2 separate regions of the Homo sapiens genome follow, and region 1 is linked to region 2. Evidence: promoter capture Hi-C in human tissues and cell types (Jung and others, 2019). All regions are on one chromosome and are shown on one strand. The core of a region is centred on a gene start or on the middle of the fragment in contact, and the rest is flanking DNA. Distances in the headings are between cores, read along the strand shown. Region 1 overlaps VPS37D (VPS37D subunit of ESCRT-I). Region 2 holds the start of MLXIPL (MLX interacting protein like).

Region 1 (3,617 bases), core at 602-3,101, 49 kb after region 2:
CTGGGGCAAGGTAGGCCAGGGGCTTCTGACCTGTGCAGGTGAGAGTGGGCCATACCCAGGAAAGACCATTCTGTATTTTTCTGTCCCTGTCTCCTTAGAATGGAAGCTTTTTGAGGGCAGGTCCTTGTCTTTGTACGTTCTGTCCCCAGCCCCGCCTCTTAGGGGCCGTCAATAAATGTGATGATGAGGATGACGATGCTGCCCGACTCCTCTCTGCTGTTGCAGCCTCCACAGCTCAGCTCCTGTGCTTCCACTTCCTACTTTTGAGATGCTCTCCCCTCCTTTCTGCCCATGCAAAGCCCAGCTGTCCGGGTCCAACACCGCCGCTGCCTCTTCCATGAAGCCTTCTCTGATTACCAACCCGTTGAGAGCCTTTCCTAAATCTTAACTTCCCGGCATTTCCAGTCAGAAGCGCTCACTGCTCCATCTTGGTTCTCCAATTGCCTCACCTGTACGCATCTTTTCCTGGGTTGCCCATAAGCCCAATCGGGATGGTACCTGGTCTTCTCTGGCCTGCCAAATGACGGTCCCCACGGAGTGATGGAGGGCATTTTGCAGGACTGATGGCATCTGTCCTCAGCCAGGGGGAATGCTAGGTGCCAGTTTGGCTGATGATTGTGGAACAAGGAGGTGGGATATACCCTGGGTCAGCTTAGGTCAAGTCCAATGAGATGCAGTTTGGCAGGGAGGCGTGGAAGTTCTTGCAAACAAAAGGGGACAGTCACAGTGTTGTGGAAGCCTACAAAGCTAATATGGTGTTGGTCCATGTTAATAAGGACATAACTATCTGGAAAGAGGAAGGTGTTGGGGTAGCTTTGCTTTTCACTTAAGTTTTTTACTGGAAGAGGGTCCCCTCCCCCCACCCGCCCCAAATGGCACCTTTGGAGAAACAAGGATGAGAAAGAACAGTCAGTGAGGAACAGTTGAGGGATCTGTTTCAAATGTGTTTGTGTGTGATGTTCAGCCTTTGAATCTCTAAAGGGTTGGGTCACCTAGAACCAGAGGTTAAAGCCAAGACCAGTGGGTGGGAACCACAGGTCAAAGCTAAGACCAATTGGTGGAAACCGTAAGGGGCCGGATTTTGGCTCCGTTTGAGGCTCTTAAATTAGGGATGAGGCCAGGAGCGGTGGCTCATGCCTGTAATCCCAGCACTTTGGGAGGCCAAGGTGGGTGGATCACCTGAGGTCAGCAGTTCAAGACCAGCCTGGCCAACATGGCGAAAACTCATCTCTACTAAAAATACAAAAATTAGCCACGCATGGTGGTAGGGACTTGTAATCCCAGCTACTCAGGAGGCTGAGGCAGGAGAATTGCTTGAACCCGGGAGGCAGAGGTTGCAGTGGGCCAAGATCACGCCACTGCACTCCAGCCTGGGCGACAAAAGTGAAACTCCGTCCCCCCACCCAAAAAAAAAGTTAGGGGTGTTCTGTGAGGTGGATGGTCCCCATCCCTGACGATGTGGGGGCAGCAACTGCTTGATGGGCTTTTTAGAGATGTCGGCTGTAGCTAGAGGGATTGGGCTGTGGGAGCTTTAGAGCCTCAGGCCTAGACAGTCAGAGTGTCCCCCTAGTACAGGCACAGTTTAAGCACTGAGAGTGCCCACTTTAGAACCTCCATCCCACCTTGGTCTTGGTTCTACTCTCTTCACTGCTGGCACTTCAGCTGCTGGAGGCCAAGGGACACCAGAACCGCTGAGTTCCTGCTGATATGACCAAAGACTGAGCAGCCTTGGAAGACCTCTCCCCCATGCTCTCCTTCTCAGCACAGTCTGGGGCAGGATGGGCCCCTCCTGCCCTGGCTTCCCATTCCTGGTCCAAGCTTCCAGGGTGCAAAGCAGTCCATTCCCACGAAAAAGTACCTTTGTCCCATTTTTCTGAAAATGCATGGTTCCCTGCTGTTTTTTGTTTTTTTTTGCTTTTTGTTTTTTTTTGAGATGGAGTTTCGCTTTTCTCACCCAGGCTGGAGTGCAATGGAGCGATCTCGGCTCACTGGAACCTCTGCCTCCCACGTTTAAGCCATTCTCCTGCCTCACACTCCCGAGTAGCTGGTATTACAGGCATGTGTCACCAAGCCCGGCTAATTTTGTATTTTTAGTAGAGACGGGGTTTCTCCATGTTGGTCAGGCTGGTCTCAAACTCCTGACCTCAGGTGATCTGCCCGCCTTGGCCTCCCAAAGTGCTGGGATTACAGGCGTGAGCCACCGCACCTGGCTTTTTTTTTTTTTTTTTTTTTTTTGAGACGGAGTCTCGCTGTGTCGCCCAGGCTGGAGTGCAGTGGCGTGATCTCGGCTCACTGCAGGCTCCACCTCCTGGGTCCATGCCATTCTCCTGCCTCAGCCTCCTGAGTAGCTGGGACTACAGGCGCCTGCCACCATGCCTGGCTAATTATAATTATTTTTGTATTTTTAGTAGAGACGGGGTTTCACCATGTTAGCCAGGATGGTCTCCATCTCCTGACCTCGTGATCCGCCCGCCTCAGCCTCCCAAAGTGCTGGGATCACAGGTGTAAGCCACAGTGCCCGGTCCCCACTTTTTTTTTTTTTTTTTTGGCTCTCCTTCATGATTGACATGGTGTAGAGTTTGCAACCAAAAGGTAAAAAGGGGCAAAGGTTGGGCAGGTCTGGACCTTTCTCCACTATCATGAATTGGGGAGCAGCCTTTAGAAGGCAGCAGCTACCAGGTTGAGCCTCCCCTCCTCAGGGTAGGTAAGAAGCAGAGAAAGTTGAGACATGGACAAGAGAGGGACTAGGAAGAAGTGTTACCATGGGAACCAGATGGGGTCCTTCAGAAGGCCTCCCACACACCTTGTCTTGCACAGAGCTGATTCTTCTTTAGAGGGGCAGGGAGTGAGACCCCTCTGTGTTCAGCTCCAGCCTGAAAATGATCGGAGGCAGGTGAGGATGGACACCACCAGAGTGGAGTGGGCCCAGTTCTGGGTGGGCCATGGAAAGGCTTACAGTTGGATGGTTTGAAAAATCATTAACCCCTTTTGCTTGAAGGTACATGGAATGTTCAGGAAGGTTCTGGAATGTTCTGGAAGGTGCAGCACTCTGGGCCCTTCCTTTTGCCTAAAACCTTCTTGAACTTGCTGCTTCTAGATTCAGGGGGCCCCAGGAATGTTCCTGGCTGTGATCTGTGAGAGAAAACAAACTTGAGGGTCTGCATCAGGGGGCTCATGAAAAAGGTCCTACCTATTAGATACCATTTTGCTTTTACAAAACAAAACCAAAGAAGTCTCCAAATAAAACTCCCACCCCTTTTAATAAAAACAGAGCTCCCTGTTCCTCAAGAAAGTCTATTATGTACACCTCCTTGTTTGTGAATCACTAGCTTCTGCATTTTTCTAACCTTCCCCATCTTGGTTTCCAAATATGAAACATAGTAACATTAAATTGCTTTTTCTTTTTCCTAACCAATCAAGGCTCACTGAGCTAAGCAGGCTCCAACCAGTGTGGGCTCAAACCTTCACCACTGAATCGTGTAGTCCCTGCAAAGCCATGGCTAAGAACTTGCCCCTAACCTCCAAGGCTGGAGAATCGAATGGTTTCTAAGAGACCCAGTTGGACTTGCTGCAGGTTTATCCCAGTGTATACGGGGATTATACACAAAAGACTGAGT
Region 2 (3,546 bases), core at 202-2,701:
CTGGGCCAGGGGCCAGAGCTTGTGGGCCAAGGTTACTCCGCCTCCAGCCAATGGGGTCGCAGCTGGGCGGCTGCGGTTGGGGGCAGGCAACACTCCCCTCACAGTCCCCACCCCAGCTCCTGCTCCCCCGCAGGGCGGCAGGTGCCGATCTGTAGCCAGCGGTTCTCAGAAGGGGAGGAGGCGCCGCGGAGGAAGAGGAATATTTGCACAGAGAAAAGATCAAGGCCGGCCGATCCCCCTTTCTCCCCTACGGGTTTTCGGTTGATAATTTATACTGGCCCCTCAACTCCGGGGAACTTTGCTCCAGGGCACTGGGCCAGGCCTCGGGTTCGCGCCCTCCTCTGGGACGCGGGGCGTGGAGCGGCAGCGGGGCGCGGCCTGTGCGCTCTCGGTGGCACTAAGCGGGGGTCCCAGGCAGCGACGGGCGCTCAGCCTAGTGTGGCGACGTGGGTAGGCGAACCCAGGCCTCCCGGGCACCGGCGTAACCTCTGCGAGCTGCGCCTCTTGGACATTTCTGGGACATCCTCCTCCCGCCACCCTTAATGTAGCAGATCAAGAAGAGGTGTCTCAGCAATTGCGGGGAGGTGGACGTGAGAGTGGGCCAGTTCCAGTCCACTTTGGTTATGAACTGGGACAATCAGGGGCGCTGGGAGTATCTCAGGGTCCAGGAATAGGGCGGGCTTGGGCCGGGGCTGCTGGGGAGAAGGCCGAGGCCTGCAGGGGGTCGGGTGGAGTGGCTCCAGAGTGGAGAGTGGGGATGGGCGCGGGTGGCCTAGGGACCAGGGGCGCCTGGCATTTTTGTAGGGACGGAGGGGCTGGGACCAGAGAGAGGGGACCAGAGGTCCAGGTAGAGGTGGGGCGCAGGCGGTCTGCGCTTCGGGGAAGAGGGAATGGGGGAGGAATGGGAATCAGAAATGCGTGGGTCCGTCAGGGGCCAGCGGGCTGGGCCGCTGTAGGAGGACCTCGGGGCTGGGAGAAAGGGGGTGTCCAGGGCGTGATCGGAGCCTCCGGGAGCCGCAGGACCGGGCTCGGGTGGGGTGTTGAGGGCCCCAGCGCGCAGTCCTGCCCCGGACCCCCCCCCCATCCCCACCTGGAAGCCAAGGCCGTCAGGGCCCGGAACCGCCCTCACCTGTAGGCCAGGCTCAAGCACTCGAAGAGGCGTGTGAGTGTGGGGTCGATACTGCGCGGCCCGAAGTCGGAGGGCCCCACGGACCCCTCCTGGTCGCGCCGCCGGGGCAGCGAGTCGCTGTGCGGCGACGACACCATGAAGTGACCGCTGTGGATGACCTGCGAGCGGAGCAAGCCGCCCGCGCTGCGCCGGAGACTCGGGTCCTCCGAGTCTGTGTCCGAGTCCGAGTCTGGGCTGGGCGCGACCCGCGGGACCTGCAAGCCCGCGGCCAGACCTGCCAGCGCGCCGGCCATGGCTGTCGCCGCCGCAACCGCCTGGTCCCTGCTCCGCGCAGCGCGGGGAACAGCTCTTGGCCAGCCGGGCCTCATTAACATAGCCCCGCCCCCACACCATAGGCCGATCGGGTGGGCGGGGCCTGGGACGGGGCGGGGCTTGTATTAGCATAATCCTTACGCCAGGTGAGAACCCGGTGCTCTGGAGCTCTGGCGGGTTGGCCCCATCTCCCTTCCCGTCTTTCCTTGGAGTCCTGATAGAGCCGCCCCTACTTTGCTCCAAAGGGATATTAAGAAAGGTCAGGCCGGACGCCAGGGGCTCTTGCCTGTAATCCTAGCACTTTAGGAGGCCAAGGCGGGAGGATGGCTTGAGGTCAGGAGTTCGAGACCAGCCTGAGCAATATGGCAAGACCCCCATCTCTACCAAAAAAATGCAAAAATTAGCCGGACATAGTGGAGAAAGCCTGTAATACCAGCTACTGGGGAGGCTGAGGTGGGAGGATTCCTTGAGCCCAGGAGTTCGACAATATGGCAAAACCCTGTCTCTACCAAACATACAAAAATTATCCAGGCATGGTGGCGTGTGCATGTAGTCCTAGCTACTCCGAAGGCTGAAGTGGGAGAATCGCTTGAGACCAAGAGGTTGAGGCTGCAGTGAGCGGAGATCGCGCCACTGCACTCCAGCCTGGATGACAGAGTGAGACCCTGTCTCCACAACAAAAGGGTCCCCTATCACACCTGAGCCTGAAAGCGCCTCAGGACCTGGGGTTTGTTCTTTCAGGGGCACCCTCCTGTGAGGCCAGAGATCACCATCTCCCCTCACCTAACTCCTGCCCTTCACCTCCAACCCCCGCCCCCCATATTAGCTCTTCTGGGTCCTCCACATAGGTAGAAGCCCCCAACTCTCAGGGGCCTGATGTGGTAAGCCCAAGGTAATGCCCCTGAAGGGCCTGGCCCACAGGAGGTTGCTAACACCTCTAGTTAACATGGTGGCCAACACGGTGGCCGGGCGCGGTGGCTCTCGCCTTCAATCCTAGCACTTTGGGAGGCCATGGTGGGTGGGTCACTTGAGGCCAGGAGTTCGAAACCAGCCTGGCTAACATGGAGAAACCCCTTCTCTACTAAAAATACAAAAATTACCGGATGTGACGATGCGTGCTTGGCTTATAATCCCAGCTACTCGGGAGGCTGAGGTGGAAGAATCACATGAGCCCAAGAGGTGGAGGTTGCAGTGAGCCGAGATCGCGCCCTACTGCACTCCACCCTGGGCAACAGTGAAATCCTGTTTCAAAAACAAAATAAAATACTTAAGAAAAAATATATATTAAAAAAATTGTGATCATTACTTCACCTGCACAGAGAGGCCCAAGGGGAGCCTCGAGGGACTGTTACTGGTAGGGATGGGTGGCTCACTGGAAGGTGGACATCCCCTAGGCAGGCATCTACCCAGGAGCTCTGAGCCCCTTCTCTCACTGACACTGAGGTCCAGCTTTTGTTCCTGCTTCTTTGTATTTTTATTTATCTATATACTTCTATTTATTTATTGTTTTGAGACGGAGGCTCACTCTGTCACCCAGGCTGGAGTGCAATGGCACGATCTCGGCTCACTGCAACCTCTGCCTCCCTGGTTCAAGCGATTCTCCTGCCTTAGCCTCCTGAGTAGCCGGGATTACAAGTGCCCGCCACCATGCCCAGCTAATTTTTGTATTTTTAGTAGAGACGAGGTTTCTCCATGCTGGCCAGGCTGGTCTCAAACTCCTGACCTTAAAGCGATTTGCCCACCTCAGCCTCTCAAAGTGCTGGGATTCCAGGCATGCGCCACCGTGCCCAGCCTATTTATATATTTTTAGAGACAGGGTCTCGCTCTGTCACCCAGGCTGGAGTGCAGAGGCACGGTCATAGCTCACTGCAGCCTCAAACTCCTGGGCCAAAGCGATCCTCCCACCTCAGCCTCCCTAGTAGCTGGGACTACAGGCTCATGCCACCAAACCTGGCTAATTTTTTTTTTTTTGTAGAGATGAAATCTGCTTCAGCCTCCCAAAGTTTTGGGATTACAAGTGTGAGCCACTGTACATGGCCTTTCTGCTTCTGAAGCCTCTTTTCTCACCTTGAGGACAGAAACCAGACTGAGGCATTCACACCTGA

Evidence for each region. Contacts are between HindIII fragments. The study calls those that stand out against the background at their distance.
Region 1: a contact is called between a fragment that was not itself captured here and the fragment with the promoter of MLXIPL in region 2, in 1 of the 25 tissues and cell types used here (dorsolateral prefrontal cortex).

What each region holds. Positions count from the first base shown.
Region 1 is chr7:73,671,918-73,675,534 of GRCh38, forward strand. It overlaps VPS37D (VPS37D subunit of ESCRT-I), which reads left to right. Exons shown (of 4, transcript NM_001077621.2): 4 at 1-193. Among named protein-coding and RNA genes, the nearest start is that of VPS37D, 5.9 kb to the left of the region's middle. The HindIII fragment of the contact is 1,779 bases long and covers 963-2,741 here.
Region 2 is chr7:73,623,071-73,626,616 of GRCh38, forward strand. It overlaps MLXIPL (MLX interacting protein like), which reads right to left and starts at 1,452. Exons shown (of 17, transcript NM_032951.3): 1 at 1,130-1,452. The coding sequence starts at 1,422. The HindIII fragment of the contact is 21,137 bases long and covers 1-3,546 here.